Regions from separate parts of the Homo sapiens genome. Here region 2 is linked to region 1. Evidence: promoter capture Hi-C in human tissues and cell types (Jung and others, 2019). All regions are on one chromosome and are shown on one strand. The core of a region is centred on a gene start or on the middle of the fragment in contact, and the rest is flanking DNA. Distances in the headings are between cores, read along the strand shown. Region 1 holds the start of MYH10 (myosin heavy chain 10). Region 2 has its middle 20 kb from the start of MFSD6L.

Evidence for each region. The method cuts DNA at HindIII sites, captures the fragments that hold promoters and counts their contacts. A contact is called where the count stands out against the background at its distance.
Region 2: a contact is called between a fragment that was not itself captured here and the fragment with the promoter of MYH10 in region 1, in 1 of the 25 tissues and cell types used here (aorta).

Annotation. Positions count from the first base shown.
Region 1 is chr17:8,629,076-8,632,165 of GRCh38, forward strand. It overlaps MYH10 (myosin heavy chain 10), which reads right to left and starts at 1,650. Exons shown (of 43, transcript NM_001256012.3): 1 at 1,579-1,650. RefSeq lists enhancers at 23-801, 802-1,579, 1,580-2,357, 3,056-3,090 and a silencer at 1,842-2,521. The HindIII fragment of the contact is 16,199 bases long and covers 1-3,090 here.
Region 2 is chr17:8,777,563-8,780,652 of GRCh38, forward strand. No RefSeq gene overlaps it. Among named protein-coding and RNA genes, the nearest start is that of MFSD6L, 20 kb to the right of the region's middle. The HindIII fragment of the contact is 3,441 bases long and covers 1-3,090 here.

The sequences.
Region 1 (3,090 bases), core at 400-2,899:
AAACATCAAAAGCAAGGGACTCAAAGAATAATTAATAAAGGCAGATTGATGAAGGAGATAAAACAATAAATAGATTATAAAGTTTTCCAGAGTGAGATACTATCAAGAATAATTAAACCTGACTCAAAGAATCCTCAGTTTCAACGTTAAAAAACAAAATCTCAGCAAAGCCAAAGTATTATGTTTGGTATTACATTATTCAGCGAAAACAGCAGTCTTTGTTTCATCTGCAGTCTGCATCTACCCCGCCTGCTTTCCCCTACCCCACCCCAGCCCACCCCACCCCCTTCCATCCACCGCAGTGATCTTGAAGGGAGCTGCAGAGGCCCTAAAGAAACAGAGATAACGGCTGTAGGCAGAGGCCACGTTATCCAAACCTCACCAGCCCGGTCTGACCCGCCGAGTCGCCAACCTCCTTCCTAAGGCCCTAGTTCCAAACAGGCCTGGCTGGGGGCCTCCCGCTTCCCAGGGCCGCATCCGCCCACCACAGGCCCACAAAGCCCCCACAAATGCCAGGACTCCGCGGCTTCAACTTCCCTCCGAACCAATTCCAGTCCGATTTTATGGGATCAGGGTGTGACCCCCAACTGCAGAAGGCAATGAAGAGACTGCGGCGAGCCATTCCCAGCTCGCTTACACAATAAAGGGATCCCGAGGCGAGTGCTGACCCTCCCCCCGGCCGTCCTGCTGCAGCGCGCCCCGCCACATTTCCCGCCTCGCCCCCTCAAACCGCCTGGGCCTCGCAGGGCGTCCACCCCCGGCCTAGGCGCTCCACGGAGGGCGCGGCAGGACGCCCTCCTCCCGCGCTCCTTCCCCGGCGCCGGCGGAGTCCGACCCTCCCCACGCCCGCGGCCGGCTCCGGAGCCCCTCACCCGCCGCGCGCTTCCCCGGCCGCGCAGAGCCAATGCCCTCCTGTCCCTCCACCCACGGGTCGGGCGCGCGCCGCCCGCCTTCCAAGCCCATGGTGAACCCCTCTGGTGCTGCGGGGGACCGGTCGCGCCAGGCCTAACCCACCCAGCAACCCACGCAGGGGCCCTTCCTGCCCAGCGCCCCCCCACCCTACCGCCGGGACTGCGCTTTCCAGCCCCGCTTAGAATCCCCTCTCTTCCTGGGAGGCAGACACTGGCTCGCGGGGCACGCCGAGACCTCCGCCGGGACACTAGCCCCTCGACCTCGCGCCCCCAGGGATCCCACCCACCGAGAACCTGGTCCTCACGTCCCCACCCCCAGATCTCCATCCCCCAGCCCCCCAGGGGTCGCCCTCCTGCACACCCAGGCCCTGACCCCCGCGGGTTTCACAAGGACTTCATTCCCCGCTCCTCCGGGAGTCTCTCCATCTCCACCCACTGAGGTCCCAGTGCCCCCAGCCCAGGACCCTGCTCAAACTAACCTAAGGTCCCCGCAGCACAAACCCTACAGCTCAGAAGCCCCTCTGTCTTCCCCAGCTCCCGCTTCGGTCCCCCGTTCCTGTCCTCCAGAGCCGCCCGGGACCCCTCAGCCCAGGAGCCATTCCTCCCTCCACAAACTGTCCCCCAGCCCTGGGCCGTGCACTCGGACCCGGGTAGCCGCACCTCTCACCTTCAGCCGAAGATGGTGGCGCGGGCGCACGTCCCCAGCCGCGACCACAGATCCAGCGCCTCAGTCCCAAACCCACCGCTGCCTCCGCCGGGCTCCTTTAGCACTGCTGCTCGGGGCTGCCCCACCCACCCCTACCCTCATTGGGCCAGCTCCACGCCCATCACCGCCGCCCCCAGACCCACTGGTTGGTTTGCGCGCCCATCTCCAAGGGAAGACGTTAGCAACCCGAACGAAGCTACCTTCCCGAGTCCGGCTCCCTCCACCCACCTGGAATGACGCTCATTGGCTCCCGCTCCCAGCCCAGGCCACAGAGGCCCCAATCTCATGGGCTGGCTCTTACGCCCGTCATAGGCTCCGGGAGGTGCGGCCGGGGCAGTGGCGCGGGATTGGCTGGCTCGTGCGTAGATGGACAGCTGAGGCTGGCTGAACGCCCGGCGATCCCGCGAGGCTGCGGGTGCGGGCCCCGCGGCGGCCGGCGCGCTGCGCTGACATTGGCTGTGCGGGCCGCGGGGCAGGTGGGCCGCGGCAGGAGGCTGGCGCTCTGACTGCAGACTCCTCGTCCTAGCGTCAGGCAGCCGCCGCAGCCGCAGCACATTCGAGCGCCCGGTCGCCCCCTGTGCTTGCGGCAGCCGGCATGTACCGCAGCGGGACGGGGTTCCACCGCGGAGTCGCGGGCCCTCAGCGTTGCCTGCAGGGGCGGGGCGGAGCGCGGTCCAGAGTCCTGACGTCACCCCCGGGGCTGCGCGGGGTTGGGGCCGCGGCGCTGCGACTCACCTGCAGTGGGGGAAGGAACGCGGGGGAGGGCGCTGCTCCGCCCATGCGCACAGGGTTTGGCCCGGGACCCGGCTGCGCTCCACGCTGCGGCCACTGTCCCGACCCCGGCCCCAGGCGGACTCTGCCGGGATCGGCCGAGCGCCAGGCGCAGGACACGGTCCTCCAAGGTCGCAGTTTTGGTGTTAGCGGGGTGAGAGGCTCTCCTGCCCAGCCTCCAGGCAAGGCTGAGATTCCAGAAGAATGAGAAGAGAACCGACCTTGGAGAGAAAACTTGGAAGAAACTTTATTCACCTCATTCATTCACTCGTTCAGTCGCTCCTTCATTCATTCATCAGAGCTCCCTACGTGAAGGGCTATGAGAGGTTCTTAAGAATATAAGGCTGGATTCCTGTAGCGCTGTCATATCCCCTAGGGCTTATGAAAACGTTGGAGACTGAAAAACAGTGGCCCCAAAATAACGAAAGGAAACTGGAAAAATCAAAGTAAATAAAATTTAATGAAATGTCTGCAGAATCTAGGCAACTGCAACAAAACTCTTGCATAATTATATATAAATATAATAAAGTCTAAATCACATGAACAAAATGAATTATTCATACAAAACCTGAAAGTCAAGATCATAAAAATTCACAGCAAGATGCAGTTATTAATCAGTTATTAATGTAGGCTATGGGAGCATTTTAATACATGTGATAATGATGTGTTTGCCTAAGCCTAGGAAACGTCTAGTCTGGCAAA
Region 2 (3,090 bases), core at 324-2,823, 150 kb after region 1:
AAACATTTCAATGGAAGAAAACAATTTTGAATTATCCCAAAGAGGATGGAAAGCAGTAAAAAGAAAGTACAGTAAATAGAAAACACAAAACGAGACAGCAGAAATAAGTTCCAAGATAACATTAATTAACATAAATATAGGTTAATTCAACCCAGAAATCAAAATAAAGAGACTCTGATTGAATATAAAAACAAAATCCAATAAAATACTGTTAGCAAAAGATAATTTATGCAAAGTTGGAAAGTAAAAGGTTAAAAAAATCTAGGCACATTAAAAAAAGAAAGAACTCCAAGGTAGCAATTTTAACATCAGAAGAAAAATTAATTTAGGGCAAAAATAACATACAGGACAAATAGAGATGTTATATACTAACAAGGGATAATAAATCAAGAAGAAATAACAATCATAAACACATATGCATCCAACAATGTAGCCTCAAAATGTATACTGGGGAAATAGATATATGAACAATTATATGCAGAGATTTTAGCACAGCTCTTTCAGAATATGAATCAAGAAGGCCAAAGATAAGCAAGATAGAATATTTGAATAATATATTTAATAATTTTGAACTAAAACATACACACACAAACATATGCTTTTATACTTAACAAAGGAAATATCCATCAATTACAAAAAATGAATTATGAGGAAATTACATCCTCCAATTATAGTGAAGTAAAGTTAGAATTCATTATAAAACGGGCACTTAAAAATATCACATTTCTGGGAAGAATTAATATTAACTTTGGGCTAAAGAGGAAATGACAAGGGAAATTATGAAATACTTAGAACCAAATTATAATGTCAAAGTGTGTGCTGAATCACAATGTCAACATTTATACTAAAGCAGTACATAAAAGAATTTAAAATTTATGACTATGCTTATTAGAAAATAAAAAATACTCAGAACAAAAAGGTAAGTGTGTAACTCAAGAAGTTAAAAAAAAGAGCAATGGAGTGAACCCACAGAAATGAGAATGAAGGAACTAATAAGGATCATGGAAGAAATAAAAAGAGAGAGCAAAGACAATGGATGAAATTAGCTAAACCAAAACTAGCCTTTTTTCTGGGGGGTTGGGGGGAGAACAGTAAACACAAACCTCTGATAAGAGTAACTAAGCAAAAAGGACTGTGTTCAACTGAGTATAGCACTTTCTTGCTCATGCTTTTCACCTCATGGTTGCAAGATGGCTGTTTCTCCTCTAAGGAAAGGGAAGAGGAGGAGGTAGAGGCTACATCTGGAAAGCAGAAATCTTTACCAGACATCCTTCGCAGAATTTCTGATAAGGTGAACATTTTAAGGTGCAGAGTCTGGTAAGGTGAACATTTTACTTGAACACAATTGCTGCCAGGGACATAATGTGGGTAAAGAAGAGGGGAAATGGATATTAGGTAGGCAAGCAACAGTCTCAAGAACTATACACTAATACATTTGAAAACTTGGGTAGAAAAGGATAAATTTCCAGAAAATGTAAAATGTCATACGAAGAAATAGAAAATTACATAAACATTTGTATATAAAGTTTTCTTGAATACAAGAAAAGTGGCTCTACTGAACTCCAGGCACCAAGTTTTACCATATGTTGAACAGAGAAGCCTTATGTTATACAAGTTGTTCCATAAAATAGAAAATAGAAAAAGGAGGGAAAGCTGCTTGATTTATTTTATGAGGCTAGTATAATCATAATGAGAAAACAGGTTAAGGAAAGTGAAAGAAAAGAAAACAGAGTGAATATTAATGCAAAAAATTTTAAATAAAATATTGGCTACCCCAATCCAACGGTGTATTTTTTAAATCCTAATTTATGAGGATCAAGTTAGAGTTAGCTAATAATTCATGTTTACTTAAAAATCAGAAAGTAGGCCAGGCATGGTGGCTCACGCCTGTAATCCCAGCACTTTGGGAGGCTGAGGCGGGTGGATCACCTGGGGTCAGGAGTTTGAGACCAGCCTGGCTAACATGGTGAATCCTCATTTCTACTAAAAATGCAAAAAATTAGCCGGGCATGGTGGTGCGCGCCTGTAATCCCAGCTACTTGAGAGGCTGAGGCAGGAGAATTGCTTGAACCTGGGAGGCAGAGGTTGCAGTGAGCCGAGATCGTGCCATTGTACTCCAGCCTGGGCAACAAGAGCAAAACTCTGTCTCAAAAAAAAAAAAAAAATCAGAAAGTATATTAATATACAATCACCACAGGAATAAACTAGAGAAGGAAGAAAACCACATGATCTTAATAGATCCAGTAAATGCTTAATAAAGTTTATGATGAGTGTTATGAAAAACCAGGAATAAAAAGGAACTTCTTTAATTTAATAAAGCCTTCAGCAAACATCATACTGAAGCTTTAGATGTAGCCTGGCATGGTGCTTTTAATCCGAGCACTTTGGGAGGCTGAGGCAGGAGGATTGCTTGATGCCAGGAATTTCTACAAAAATTAAACAATAAAAACATTAGCTGGTCATGGTGGCACCTATAGTTCCAGCTACTTGGAAGACTCGGGTGGGAGGATCACTTGAGCTTGGGAGTTCAAGACGCCATGAGCTATGATCATGTCATTGCACTCCTGCCTAGGCAACAGAGTGAGACCCTGTCTCTAAAAATCAAATACACAAACAAACAGACAAAGACTTTAGACAGATTCTTTTTAAGGTTGAGAACACAAAAATGGTTACTCTACCACTACTATTCAACATGGCATTGGAATTCCTTGCTAACACACCAAGACCATGAAAACCACCACCACTGCCACCACCAATAACAACAAGAGGGTCAAGTGCTAGCAGGGTAAAGGCAAAATTGATTATTTGCAGATGAAATGTTTATTTACATAGTAAGCACAACAGAATTAAGAGATAGAGAGTCAGAACTAAAAACAGAGTTCAGCAAGATGGCTGGAGATGATGCCCAGCATACAGAAACTGATAGGGTTTGTTTGCACTGTCAATGACCAATTAGAAAATATAAAAATATACAAAATGATCTTTTACAATAGCATAAAAAACTGTCAAGTACTTACGACCTTATATAATGAAACTACATAAGATCTTTGTGGAGCAAAATTTAAAACTATTAAAGGACATAAAGAAGTT